Regions from separate parts of the Homo sapiens genome. Here region 1 is linked to region 2. Evidence: promoter capture Hi-C in 16 types of primary human blood cells and fetal thymus (Javierre and others, 2016). All regions are on one chromosome and are shown on one strand. The core of a region is centred on a gene start or on the middle of the fragment in contact, and the rest is flanking DNA. Distances in the headings are between cores, read along the strand shown.

Region 1 (7,287 bases), core at 383-2,882, 640 kb before region 2:
CCAGGGCCACTGGATTAATCAGTCCTGAAACCACGATACCTATTTTTTTTTTTTTCTTTGGAGATGGAGCCTCGCTCTGTCTCCCAGGCTGGAGTGCAATGGCGCAATCTTGGCTCACCGCAACCTCCGCCTCCCAGGCTCAGGCGATTCTCCCACCTCAGCCTCCCAAGCAGCTGGTATTACAGGCATCTGCCACCACGCCTGGCTAATTTTGTATTTCTAGTAGAGACAGGGTTTCACCATGTTGGCCAGGCTGGTCTCGAGCTCCTGACCTCAGGTGATCCGCCCACCTTTGCCTCCCAAAGTGCTGGGATTACAGGCATGAGCCATCACGCCCAGCTGACCCCCTCCATTTTCTTCCCTGACCCCCAGGCTCTAAGGCAGACAGCTACTCCTTCACCTTGTAGCAGCTACCCCACTGCATTATTAATTTTTCATACCTATTTTCTTCTCTAGACCATAAGCAAGGATGCTGTTCCATTCATCCTGGTATTCTGAGTACCTAGCATATTTCAGATACCTGGTAAATGTTAAGTGAATTTGTGTAACTGTCTTATATATATAATGAATCTGCAATACCTCCCTTTTTTCTGAGACAGGGTCTTGGCTCTATTGCCCAGACTCACTGCAGCTTCAACTTCCCAGGCTCAAGAAAATCCTCCCACCTCAGCCTCCCAAGTAGCTGGGACTACAAGCATGCGCCACCACACCCAACTACCCAACTAATTTCTTTGTTTTTTGTACAGATGGTGTCTCACTATGTTGCCCAGGCTGGTCTTGAACTCCTGTGCTCAAGTGATCCTCCCGCCTAGGCCTCCCAAAATGCTGGGATTACAGGCATGAGCCACTGCACCCAGCCTCTGTAATACTCTTGATGGCTAACTGGATATTTCATTCATCATTATATCTAAAGAGCCTAGGATAGTGTCTGACACATAGCTGGTGTCGATAACTGTTTGTAAAAATAAGTTCCTTTTCCCAATCTGGGTGATATTTAATTTATGGCACTGTTAACCTCCTTTCCTCTCTTCTCCCTCTGACCCACAATAGGGCTCTATCTTTGCAGCTCAAACCTGTCTCCTTTTCACGACCACCCCTCATAAGCCAATATCTTGTCTGGCAGCACAGGGCACAATCTGCCACTAGGGCGTTAAGTTTGTGACACTGCCCGCCATTTCGTCCTAGCGGTTTACTTGGGGGTGGAATGTCTGAGAAAACCACAGCTCCCACGGGTCCCCACCTCGGTACAGAAGGGAGTGTCCCTGCTTCTCCCACCCCCACGGCTGACAGGCACCAAACCAGAGCTGGGACTGTCCCTGGCGGTGTCCAGGCCCCACCCTCTCTGTGTGCAGGTGGAAATGAAGGCCTGGGGGCGGGGGGAATGGAGGGAGGCATAAACTTCAAGGTCACACAGCGAACCCCGGTCAGAACGGGCCTAAACGTAGGGTTTCCGCTCGGCTCTCTAGGGAGCTGGGAGCCCAGCCCCCGCCTACCCCCACAGCCGCGACGGAATGAGGTCTCACCGCAGGCCGCTACTGCCCCGCGCTCGCTCACTCCGCTGAGGCTCCGCGCTGCTGGGCCGCTCGCACAGAGCCCGCAGCTGTTGTCCCGGTGTCACTGGCGACGGGCATCGGCCACTTCCGGTACCCGGGCGGCACTCCAGCCAATCGGCGCGCGTCGCACTCCGCTGGAGGAACAGGTGGTCAGCGCACCGACGCCCCCTTGCCTTTTCCGGCTTGCTTTTCGCCGGTTCTAGCCCTAGCCCAAGTTCCACGTCGCCGCCGCCTGCCGAGCCGGCTCCCTGGAACAGCAAAGTGCACCCGTCGATGCCCACTTCAGCCCCGGAATCATTGACGACCTGAGTCCTCCGGGTTTCCTAGAACGGCTCCGGGGATGAACTTCCGCTCCGCGATCTGCCGCTCTGCGCCCTCGTGTCGCTCCCCAAGCATTGCTCTAGGCTCAAGAACTCGAGAATCCGCTTCGCATTCCCGCGGGGACCGTTTGCGCGACCCTTTTAACTCTCCCAACCCGCATCGTTCTTATCCCATCCTTCCTTTCCACAGACTCCGTGGGTCTGATAAGCACAGGGCTGCAGATCCTGGGAACAGGTCTCTCCTCGGCGGGAGCGAAGGGAGACATGCTTTGAGTTCCGGAAGGGCTTGCAGGAGTGACGTTTGGCCTGAAATCTCAAGATTGCGTGGGAATTACCAAGGTTAAGAGTAAAGGCCTAGGTTAAGCTGCCGAGGCCACGGAAACAGCATTCTGCAGCTAGCCTTCCTGGGTTCCCTGAGCAAGCTTGGCCCATTCTCACCTCAGAACCTTTCCTTGTTACTTCCTCTGTAATTTTGCACAGCCAGCTTGTTTTCTTGTTTGTTTGTTTTTTGAGATGGAGTTTCGCTCTTGTTGTCCAGGCTGGAGTGCGATGGCGCCATCTCCGCTCACCGCAACCTCCGCCTCCCGGATTCAAGCGATTCTCCTACTTCAGCCTCCCCGAGTAACTGGGATTACAAGCATGTGCCACCACGCCCGGCTAATTTTGTATTTTAGGTAGAGACGGGTTTTCTCCATTTTGGTCAGGCTGGTCTCGAACTCCCGACCTCAGGTGATCCGGCCGCCTCGGCCTCCCAAAGTGCTGGGATTACAGACATGAGCCACCGCGCCCGGCCTCCAGCTTGTTTTTGTTTGTTTTTTGAGGCGGAGTTTCGCTCTTGTCGCCAAGGCTGGAGTGCAATGGCACGATCTCTGCTCACTGCAACCTCCACCTCCCGGGTTCAAGCGATTCTCCAGCCTCAGCCTCCAGAGTAGCTGGGATTACAAGTGCCAGCCACCACGCCCGGCTAATTTTTGTATTTTTAGTAGAGACGGGGTTTCACCATGTTGGTCAGGCTGGTCTCGAACTTCTGACCTTAGGTCAGACCTTAGGCCCACCTTGGCCTCCCAAAGTGCTGGGATTACAGGCGTGAGCTACCGCGTCCAGCCAGCCAGTTTGTTTTTAGGTGTCAGTTCCAAGATCACCACATTGAAGACTTTCATTCTATATAATGTTGCCTCAGAGTACACTATCCTTCCCAAATATCAGTTACAAAGGACTATGATTAGCCCTGTTTGGGTCTGGTGCTCAACCATGGACCAATCAAGGGGGAAAGGACCGTGTGATTTACCAAGCCTGGTCACCTGCCTTCCCGCAAGGATGACGGCGGGCTTCTGTGTTTGCCTCACCATAATCCTATGAAATAGGGAAAGGAGTGACCACCCTTAGAAGGGAATATTGTGTTTGTATGCCACACACAATCTAGCAGAAAGAAAACTTTCTCTTGAATTCATCATTGCCATTAGGCCCTAGACTCTAGGGTCCATCACTTTAGCCACTCTGGTACTAAAATCCTTAACTCCCTTGCCCTACTGTCTGCAACTGCATGGGAAGTTTGTTAACTCTGATTCAATCAGAATATCTATTTTCCGGCCGGGCGTGGTGGCTCATGCATGTGATCCCAGTACTTTGGGAGGCTGAGGCAGACAGATCACAAGGTCAGGAGTTCGAAACCAGCCTGGCCAAAATGGTGAAACCCATCTCTATTAAAAGTACAAAAATTAGGGCCAGGTGCGGTGGCTCACACCTGTAATCCCAGCACTTTGGGAGGCGAAGGCGGGAGGATCACAAGGTCAGGAGTTCGAGACCAGCCTGGCCAATATGGTGAAACCCTGTCTCTACTAAAAATACAAAAATTAGCCAGGCATGGTGGTGCATGCCTGTAGTCCCAGCTACTCGAGAGGCTGAGGCAGAAGAATCACCTGAACCTGGGAGGCGGAGGTTACAGTGAGCTGAGATCACGCCACTGCACTCTCGCCTGGGCGACAGAGTAAGACTCCATCTCAAAAAAAAAAAAAAAAAACTACAAAAATTAGTCAGATGTGGTGGCTCGCACCCGTAATCCCAGCTACTCGGGAGGCTGAGGCAGGAGAATCGCTTGAACCTGGGAGGCAGAGGTTGCCGTGAGCCAAGATCACGCCACTGCACTCCAGCCTGGGCCACAGAGCGAGATTCTATGTCAAAAAAAAAAAAATCTGTTTTCCTTGCCCATGCGGCTAATGGTGAGTGGGAAAAATATATTTTGTTTAAGAGTCCTAAGGTAATCTTATGGTCTCTGCTTTCCACAGGCCCAGAAATCACTTTCTGTTTCCCTACTCAGCTTGTCTACCATTTTCCACGGTTGCCATTGCAACCTTCCTCACTCTGCTCAAAACTTTCTCCAAGCCGTGATCCAAGAAAAGTCCATTTCCATCAAAATCATTGCAAGCTACATTTATCCCAAGGAAAGACGCCCAGACTACAAAAATATCCTGCCGCAGAACCAAGGGTGGAAGATATTTGGTTTTACTGAGCTTTATCTAGTACACCTGCATTAATGGGTGTCTGCCTCAAGAGCCTAAATCGTGATTCTCAACCTTGACTGTGGGGAAAAGCAAGAGAGATCAGATTGTTACTGTGTCTGTGTAGAAAGAAGTAGACATAGGAGACTCCATTTTGTTCTGTACTAAGAAAAATTCTTCTGCCTTGAGATTCTGTTAATCTATAACCTTACCCCCAACCCCGTGCTCTCTGAAACATGTGCTGTGTCAACTCAGAGTTGAATGGATTAAGGGCGGTGCAAGATGTGCTTTGTTAAACAGATGCCTGAAGGCAGCATGCTCCTTAAGAGTCATCACCACTCCCTAATCTCAAGTACCCAGGGACACAAAAACTGCGGAAGGCCGCAGGGACCTCTGCCTAGGAAAGCCAGGTATTGTCCAAGGTTTCTCCCCATGTGGTAGTCTGAAATATGGCCTCGTGGGAAGGGAAAGACCTGACCATCCCCCAGCCCGACACCCGTAAAGGGTCTGTGCTGAGGAGGATTAGTATAAGAGGAAGGAATGCCTCTTGCAGTTGAGACAAGAGGAAGGCATCTGTCTCCTGCCTGTCCCTGGGCAATGGAATGTCTCGGTATAAAACCCGATTGTATGCTCCATCTACTGAGATAGGGAAAAACTGCCTTAGGGCTGGAGTGGGACCTGCGGGCAGCAATACTGCTTTGTAAAGCATTGAGATGTTTATGTGTATGCATATCTAAAAGCACAGCACTTAATCCTTTACATTGTCTATGATGCAAAGACCTTTGTTCACGTGTTTGTCTGCTGACCCTCTCCCCACAATTGTCTTGTGACCCTGACACATCCCCCTCTTCGAGAAACACCCACAAATGATCAATAAATACTAAGGGAACTCAGAGGCTGGCGGGATCCTCCATATGCTGAACGCTGGTTCCCTGGGTCCCCTTATTTCTTTCTCTATACTTTGTCTCTGTGTCTTTTTCTTTCCTAAGTCTCTCGTTCCACCTTACGAGAAACACCCACAGGTGTGGAGGGGCAACCCACCCCTACACTTGACTGCACATTGGAATCACCTGGGGTCTAAAATCATGGCTGTCTGGTGCCTCCCACATAGACTCTGTTGAAATTGATCTGAAAAAAGATCTGGACGTGGATTGTTTTGCTTTTAACTTTCCAGGTAATTCTGACCTACAGCCATGGTTGAAAACCAATAGCATAGGCCAATGGTTCTCAAAGTGTGGTCTCTAAACCAGCAGCATTAGCATCACCTGGGGACTTGTTAGAAATGAAAATTCTTAGGCCCCACCCACAGATCTTCTAAATCAGAAACTCTGGAGTTGGAGCTCAGAAATGTGTTGTGGCTTTTTTGTTTTGTTTTGTTTGGTTTGGTGGCTGTTGTTTTTTGAGATGGAGTCCACTCTGTCGCCCAGGCTGGGGTGCAGTGGTGCCATCTCAGCTCACCACAACCTCCGCCTCCTGGGTTCAAGTGATTCTCCTGCCTCAGCCTCCCGAGTAGCTGGGATTATAAGTATGCACCACCACACCTGGCTAATTTTTGTACTTTTAGTAGAGATGGGGTTTCACCGTATTGGCCAGGCTGGTCTTGATCTCCTGTCCTCAGGTGATCCACCTGCCTCGGCCTCCCAAAGTGCCAGGATTACAGGTGTGAGCCACCAAGCCCGGCCCAGAAATGTGTGTTTTAACAACACTTCATGGCTCTGATGCACAATAAAGTTTGAGAATCATTGGCCCCAGCTTTGGCAGTGCTTAATCTGACCTGCGCTTGTGTGTGAGTTAGGAAGGAAAAGGATAAGTTGTCTCCTCTCAGCCACTCCCCGGCTCACCGTTTGCTTTATTTTATTTTATTTTGTTTTGTTTTTTGAGATGGAGTCTTGCTCTTGTCGCTCAGGCTGGAGTGCAATGGCGTGATCTTGGCTCACCGCAACCTCCACCTCCGAGGTTCAAGCGATTCTCCTGCCTCAGCCTCCTGAGTAGCTGGGAATACAGCCACGTGCCACCACGCCCGGCTAATTTTTGTATTTTTAGTAGAGACAGGGTTTCTCCATGTTAGTCAGGCTTGTCTGGAACTCCTGAGCTCAGGTGATCCGCCCACCTCGGCCTCCCAAAGTGCTGGGATTACAGCCGTGAGCTACCACGCCTGGCCCACCGTCTGCTTTATTACACTAGCCAACCTAGGTGCCACCTGGAGTAATAGGAATCTACTGAGTGAAGGAGACAAGGACATATGGTTTGTAAATACTGTTCCCACTTTCAGCCTGTATGAGGATGTGTATGACTGGGCAGGGGCTGATGTTTCACGGTCTACTAACAGGTTCAGGACTTCCACAGAATTGGCTTTATAGGTGAGTATGAGCAGTTCTGTTCCTCTTAAAAAAAAAAAAAAAGGTAGATAGGAACACTGACCACCCTCCTGAATTCACACAGAGACAAACACATGGAGAAACCAAAGACACACTGCACTATTTCACCCTTGTCCCTTCTCTTCTATCTGTAGAATATGTGAGAAGGAGGGCTACAGGCACTGGCTGCACTCCTTTCTTACATTTTTATTTTATTATTTTATTATTTTATTTTATTTTATTTTTGAGACAGAGCTTCACTCTTGTCGCCCAGGCTGGAGTGCAATGGTGCAATCTTGGCTCACTGCAACCTCCGCCTGCTGGGTTCAAGCGATTCTCCTGCTTCAGCCTCCCAAGTAGTTGGGATTACAGACATGCACCACCACTCCTGGCTAATTTTTGTATTTTCAGTAGAGACAGGGTTTCGCCGTGTTGGACAAGCTGGTCTCGAACTCTTCACCTCAAGTGATCCACCTACCTCGGCCTCCCAAAGTGTTGGGATTACAGGCATGAGCCACTGCGCCCGGGCTCCGCTTCTTATCACTGCCAGCTGCTTCCT
Region 2 (7,245 bases), core at 4,408-6,907:
CTGCTCCAGGTTTGGCACAGGGCCACAGCTGACCAGCACAGCACAGGGCATGGCACCCAAGCCCACTGTTCTCTCCCCCTCTCTCCCATACAGCTGTACAACCACACACACAAGAGCAGGCACACAGAGAAACGTGTGCATTTCAAACACTCAAAGAAACAAGCATCCCTTGGCTGGGCACGGTGGCTCACGCCTGTAATCTCAGCAGTTTGGGAGGCCAAGGCTGGCGGATCACCTGAGGTCAGGAGCTTGAGACCAGCCATGGTCAACGTGGTGAAACCCCGTCTCTACTAAAAGTACAAAAAATTAGCCGGACGTGGTGGCGGGCGCCTGTAATCCCAGCTACTCGGGAGGCTGAGGCAGGAGAATTGCTTGAGCCTGGGAGGTGGAGGTTGCAGTGAGCCGAGATCGCGCCATTGCACTCCAGCCTGGGCAACAAGAGCCACGCTCCATCTCAAAAAAAAAAGAAAGAAAAAGAAAGAAAGAAGCATCCCAAAGGCACAGACATTCACACACACACACTGACACATAAGCACGCAGCCACACGGCTCCTTCCCTCCTCTTCATATGGGAACACAGATATAGATACAAACAGGCATTCCCAGAGAAACACACCTGCAGAGGCACAAATACACACACACACACACACACACACAGGAACTCACTCTCACAGACATGTACACCCAGCCTCACTCATACACCCAGACACACAGACACATGTGCAGTGAGATGTGCACCCAGAGGCCTGCCCGCGTATGCACAGGCTCAGGGCTGCCATCCACACTGCAGTCAGAGGAGCGGCAGCCCCCTGTCGCTGCTCAGTGCACAGCCCTTTACTTAGGCCACTGTGTAAACGGAAGTCCCTGGAGCTGTACAGCACAGTGGCCTCGCTCATGCACAAACACTGGAAATGCATAGGTGAACATGTACATAAAAAGACGAACGTGTCCTGGCTTGCACGCATGTGCACACACAAGCCTGTTCTTCCAGAGGCACAGCAGTGGGCACCCAGCCTAATGTAGAGAGAGAAAGTGGGTCTCCCAGACACCAGGGTCTGTTTCCTGATAGCCTCTTGGTGTCCTAGAAAGGGTCGGGGTCTGCAGCACCTGCTCACGTGAGCCATGCGGCTCTGGCCCTGTCATTATTATGAAGAAGAACAATCCTCACTTTCATCAGTCAGGAGGTGACTGACAGCCAGGCCCTGAGCTGTACACTCGCAGTTGTCATCCTAAAAGAGGGGGACTGTCATTGCCCCCATTCTACAGATGAGGAAACAGAGGCTTTAGCGGCCCAAGGTTGCCCGTCTGAAGCTGGGGGAGCTGGGGCTCAAATCTCAGCCAGAGGCAGCCTGTCCACACACCCAGAACCACAGAAGGGGAGCAGAAGCCCCCAAGTGGGTCCCCGCAGAAACACCCACACCAAGAAAGCCCTGCGTGCACACCTCTAAGAGCTGCCCCATGCACATGAAGATCAAGGGATCAGAGGAGCAAAGCAAAAAATCCTTGCTCAGGGAGGGACGTGGTGGCTCACGCCTGTAATCCCAGCACTTTGGGAGGCCGAGGCCGGCAGATCTTGAGGTCAGGAGATCAAGACCATCGTGGCTAACACAGTGAAATCCCATCTCTATTTAAAAATACAAAAAATTAGCCAGATGTTGTGGCACAGGCCTGTAGTCCCAGCTACTCAGGAGGCTGAGGCAGGAGAATCGCTTGAACCTGGGAGGCGGAGGTTGCAGTGAGCTGAGATCATGCCACTGCACTCCAGCCTGGGCGACAGAGTGAGACTCCGTCTCCAAAAAAAAAAAAAAAGAAATCTTTGTTTAGACATTTAATTTGTCCCCAATTGCCACTGCAACCTGGCATACAAACTGTTATGTCTTTTTCCCCTTTTAATATTTTGTTTTTTATTTTTATTTTATTTATTTATTTTTGAGACTGAATCTCACTATTTCATCCAGGCTGAAGTGCAGTGACACGATCTCAGCTCACTGCAACCTCTGCCTCCTGGGTTCAGGCAATTTTCCTGCCTCGGCCTCCCAAGTAGCTGGGATTACAGGTGCCCGCCATCACGCCTGGCTAATTTTTGTATTTTTAGTAGAGACGGGGTTTCACCATTTTGGCCAGTCTGGTCTCGAACTCCTGATCTCAGGTGATCCACCTGCCTCGGCCTCTCAAAGTCCCCCTTTTATTATTTTAAATACACAAAGAAGACAGTCATTGGAAAGAAAAAAAGGAGACAACACAGGTAAGCAAAATAAATAGCTAAACGAAAATGCTCCAAATTGTGCCCATCTTCCATTTTCAGGAATGAGGACTCATCCCCTTGTTTTCTCTCCTCCTGGGCTCCTCTCAGCCCCATGGTACTCTAGAGGTGATCCAGAGCCAAGCGTGCACCCACCCTTGCTTTCATCTGTAGCCTACCACCCTGGCCCCATAAGAGCTGTTTCCTGCAAGAACATTTTAGCTGTTTACCCCCACCAGTTCCCAGATGCTCAGCACGGTTTCACTTCTCCAGGTCTCTATCCCCACAGTAACCACAGCCCCCTTTCTTGCACATACAGAGGAAGTGCTGATGGAGAAGGGACCTGGACAGGCAAGACTCAGGGTCTTAGGGCCCAGCCAGGGACCTCCAGGGCTAGCGGCAGAGATAGCGGGTCCCCAGGCTCGTGGGTTCAGAGAGCTCCACACTGGTGATTCCTGGCTCCCATCCACCTCTTGCCCCTTCTCGCCTTTGCGTGCCCTTGGCCCACACTCCAACTCAGGCCTCCTCAGCTTTGGCCTGATCCACTACAGCAGCCTCTGAACTGACTCCCTGGCTCATTTTGCCTCCATCAGGGCCTCAAATCCAATTATATGGCTCCCCATTGCCCAAGGCAGAAAGTCCAAGCTCCCAGTCTGGCACCCAAGAAGCTCTGTTCTCACCCCATACACCCCTTTGGGGTTTTTTGTTTCATGTGTTTTGTTTTGCTTTGTTTTGGCTTTTTGTCTTTAGGGGTTTAGATAAGATCTTGCTCTGTCACTCAGGCTAGAGGGCTCACCGCAGCCTCAAGCAATCCTCCCGCTTCAGCCTCAAGCAATCCTCCTGCTTCAGCCTCAAGCAATCCTCCTGCTTCAGCCTCCCGAGAGGCTGAAGACATCACTGTCCCTGGCTAATTTTTTAAATTTTTTGTAGAGACAAGGTTTTTCTATGTTACCCAGGCTGGTCTCGAACTCCTGACCTCATGTGAGGAGAAGCTCCTGACCTCTGAGCTCCTCAAAGACGATGACCAGGTCTGGGGATGGCTCTGCAGCCCCTAGAGTTTCATGATTCCATAGCCACTCTCTGGCATGCTGAGCTGGTAACTGACAGATCGATGCCCAGGTCTCAGAGATGCCTGGCAGCTGCAGGCACCCTCCTGAGCTCCCAGCCCGGCCTGTGCCTCCCCCTTGTCTGGCCGCACCTCTCCGCCTCGCAGGACTGCCATCAACCAGCCTCTATCTCTGCCCCATGAGATGGTCATTCCTGAGTTCAGGAACTCCAAGTCCGATTTCCTCCCTGGGTCCACAGCAGCCAGCAGGGGGTCCTGCCCACAGTTAGTGCTCAGCCGGTCTTGAATGAATGAATGACAAGAAGAGAAGAGCAAGTGGAGCCTCAATCAGCTGTTGTTATTGTTGTTGTCTTTGTTTGAGACGGAGTCTCGCTCTGTCGCCCAGGCTGGAGTGCAGTGGCACGATCTCAGCTCACCGCAACCTCCGCCTCCCGGGTTCAAGCGACTGTCCTGCCTCAGCCTCCCGAGTAGCTGGGATTACAGGCGTGAGCCACCACGCCTGGCCCCTGATCAGTCTTGAATGAATGAATGAGTGAGTGAGTTAGTGAATGAGTGACAGAAGACAGAGCAGGTTGAGCCCTGAAGCCTGCAAGAAGGAAGGCAGGACGTGTGAGGTTTGCGAGCAGCCTGTTGTCCTAGAAACACAGCCAGCAGGAGCTATTCTTGTCTGGCCCAGGCTACCCTGTCCTCCACCTAGAACCTGGGGGCCTCTGCCTGGAAGTCCTGCCTGCTGTCCTCACCCACCCACCCCTCATTATGTCTCTGGCCCCACCCCCACTGTGCCCTCCCTTAATTTTTAAAAAATATTTATTTATTTATTTATTTTTTATTTTTTATTTTTTTTTTTTTGAGACAGAGCCTTGCTCTGTCGCCCAGACTGGAGTGCAATGGTGGGATCTTGGCTCAATGGTGGGATCTCGGCTCACTGCAACATCCACCTCCCAGGTTCAAGCAATTCTCTGCCTCAGCCTCCCCAGTAGCTGAGATTACAGGTGCCCGCTACCATGCTCGGCTAATTTTTGTAGTTTTAGTAGAGACGGGGTTTCACCATGTTGCCCAGGCTGGTCACAAAGTCCTCACTTCAAGTGATCCGCCCACCTTGGCCTCCCACAGTGCTGGGATTACAGGCCTGAGCCACCGCACCCAGCCCTAAAATATTTTTAATTTTTTAAATAGAGACAGAGTTTCGGCTGGGCGCAGGGGCTCATGCCTATAATCCCAACACTTTGGGAGGCCGAGGCAGGCGGATCACCTGAGGTCTGGAGTTCGAGACAGCCTGGCATACACGGCAAAACCCCGTCTCTACTAAAAATACAAAAACTAGCCTGGCATGGTGGTATGCGCCTGTAGTCCCAGCTACTCGGGAGGCTGAGATAGGAATCGCTTGAACCTGGGAGGCAGAAGTTGCAGTGAGCCGAGATCGCGCCACTGCACTCCAGCCTGGGCAACAGATTGAGACTCTGTCTCAAGAAAAAAAAAAAAGGCCGGGCACGGTGGCTCATGCCTGTAATCCCAGCACTTTGGGAGGCCGAGGCGGGTGGATCACCTGAGGTCAGGAGTTCGAGACCAGCCTGACTAGCATGGTAAAACCCCGTCCCTACTCCTCCTCTACTCAAAATACAAAAATTAGCCGGATGTGGTGGTGCACGCCTGTAATCCCAGCTACTCGGGAGGCTGAGGCAGGAGAATCACTTGAACCTGGGAGACAGAGGTTGCAGTGAGCTGAGATTGCGCCACTACACTCCAGCCTGGGCGACAGAGCGAGACTCTGTCTCAAAAAAAAAAATAAATAAATAGAGACAGAGTCTCACTATGTTGTCCAGGTTGGTCTCAAACTCCTGGGCTCAAGCAATCTTCCTGCCTCAGCCTCCCAAAGTGCTGGAATTACAAGCGGGAGCCACCATGCCCAGCCTGTGTCCCTTCTTAGTTGAGGCTGGATTGGGAACATCAGTTGGTCCTCCCCGATTCGAGCACAGCTGAAAACCACCTCTAGAGGTGAGAACACCAGAGATGGGCCCAGGAGCAGAAAGATGGGTGATGGCTGGAAGGCCACCATGGATCTGCAGCCCCTGGCTGGTGGGCACAGCAGCAGGTACTGCCCAGGGTAGCCATCCCCTCCTCACCTGCAATGATGAACCAGTTCATGTAATTCAGGAGGTTGATGTAGCAGAGGACGGCGGCAGCCACGTAGGCCCTCCACGGGGGCAGGCTCCAGGAGGTGGGCGTGATGGGAGGGGGACACTGCCTGCCTGGCCCTGGGGACTGGCCCTGCAGACCTCCTGGCCCAGGCTCAGGGCACTCCGCTGACATCCCCCCAGCCATGCCAGCCTGCAGCTCTTGGCCTGAGACTGGCGCCAGGATGAAGCAACATTAGCTCAGCACGAAGTCACTTCCTGTGGGGTCCCAGGCTCCAAACCTCAAAGCACCTGCCCTAACTGTTGGGCGTCTTATCGCAGGTTCCTCCTGACCCCACGGCAGCTTCACCAGTGCGATTTCCCCATCGTCAGCCTCTGAGACCTGCTACGGAGGACAAGGGCTCCTGGCACCCCCACCCTGGGGACTGGACAACTCTGTGGTCCCCTTGATCTAGCCTGCAGCTTCAGTGGCTGCAGTGAGGAAGGGAAGCTTCCAGGGCAGGAAATGAGATGAGCCTCCCAGAGTGCTGCTTGCTGTGAGATGGTCTAGCTGCCCGTACGGGACTGTGAACCAATGCCTTGAAGCCGGGGCAAATGAGGAAGGCTGGGCATTGGCCAGGACAGCAGCATTGCACTCGACTGCCAGGCAGGATGAGCACCTACCCAGGATCTAAGGTCCTTCCCGGAAAAACAAAGGTAGCAGAGGGGGCTGCCTACAAGAAGACAGCCTGTGTGCAAAACTCATCAGTGGGGGCTAAATCTGGGGGGAAGACTTCAGTGAGGGGGGAGGGTGTCAGCACGGTCACGAAGCATCTCTTGATAGATTGCTTATTAGTAACAAAAGGAAAAAGAGTAACTATACAGTAGAGGAATCAGACATCTTGACCAAGGGGTTAAAATAAATCACCTGTGAGAGGCAGGAGGGTGTCGTGTGCCTCCAGATGTGAAGGTCTTCGCAGGTCACAGCATCATCTATGTGGCATTCCAGCCAGGAAGGCACAACCGGAATCTCATCATGAGAAGACATCAGCCAGACGCGGTGGCTCGCACCTGTAATCCTAACACTGGGAGGCCAAGACAGGAGGATCATCCAAGCCCAGAAGTTTGTGACCAGCCTGGGCAACATGGTGAAACCCCATTGCTACAAAAATACCAAAAAAATAAAAAATTTTAAAAAAAAATAGCCGGGTGTAGTGGTGTGCGTCCACAGTCCCAGCTACTTGGGAGGCTGAGGTAGGAAGGATCGCCTTAGCCTGGGAAGTCGAGGCTGCAGTGAGCCATGTTCGTGCCACTGCACTCCAGGCTGGGTGACAAAGCAAGACCCCAACTCAAAAAAAAAAATTTTTTTTTTAATTTTTAAAATGAAAAAACATCAGACAAGCCCAAATTGAGAAACACTATTTCTTTAAAGGGACTGTATATTGAAAAATGTCAGAGTCATGAAAGACTAAGAAAGACTGAGGGAGCTAGGCGTGGTGGCTCACGCTTGTTATCCCAGCACTTTGGGAGGCCGAGGCAGGTGGATCACCTGAGGTCGGGAGTTCAAGATCAGCCTGACCAATGTGGAGAAACCCCGTCTCTACTAAAAATACAAAACTAACTAGGCATGGTGGCAGGTGCCTGTAATCTCAGCTACTCGGGAGGCTGAGGCAGGAGAATTGCTTGAACCCGGGAGGCACAGGTTGTGGTGAGCCAAGATCACGCCATTACACTCCAGCCTGGGCAACAAGAGCAAAACTCTGTCTCGAAAAAAAAAAAATATTCTGAGGGACTGTTTTGGATTAAAAGCAACAAAGAGACAAG

The links. The method cuts DNA at HindIII sites, captures the fragments that hold promoters and counts their contacts. A CHiCAGO score of 5 or more calls a contact.
Region 1: the fragment with the promoter of ZFP3 here is called in contact with the fragment with the promoter of SPNS3 in region 2 in 1 of 17 cell types (neutrophils); the score reaches 5.0 in neutrophils.

Annotation. Positions count from the first base shown.
Region 1 is chr17:5,072,812-5,080,098 of GRCh38, reverse strand. It overlaps ZFP3 (ZFP3 zinc finger protein), which reads right to left and starts at 1,632. Exons shown (of 2, transcript NM_153018.3): 1 at 1,524-1,632. ZFP3-DT (ZFP3 divergent transcript) reads left to right here and starts at 1,986. Exons shown (of 2, transcript NR_186458.1): 1 at 1,986-2,212; 2 at 4,159-4,421. RefSeq lists enhancers at 1,856-1,925, 1,293-2,164. The HindIII fragment of the contact is 11,376 bases long and covers 1-2,297 here.
Region 2 is chr17:4,432,352-4,439,596 of GRCh38, reverse strand. It overlaps SPNS3 (SPNS lysolipid transporter 3, sphingosine-1-phosphate (putative)), which reads right to left and starts at 5,657. Exons shown (of 12, transcript NM_182538.5): 1 at 5,431-5,657. The coding sequence starts at 5,629. RefSeq lists enhancers at 1-208, 4,941-5,595. The HindIII fragment of the contact is 18,293 bases long and covers 1-5,934 here.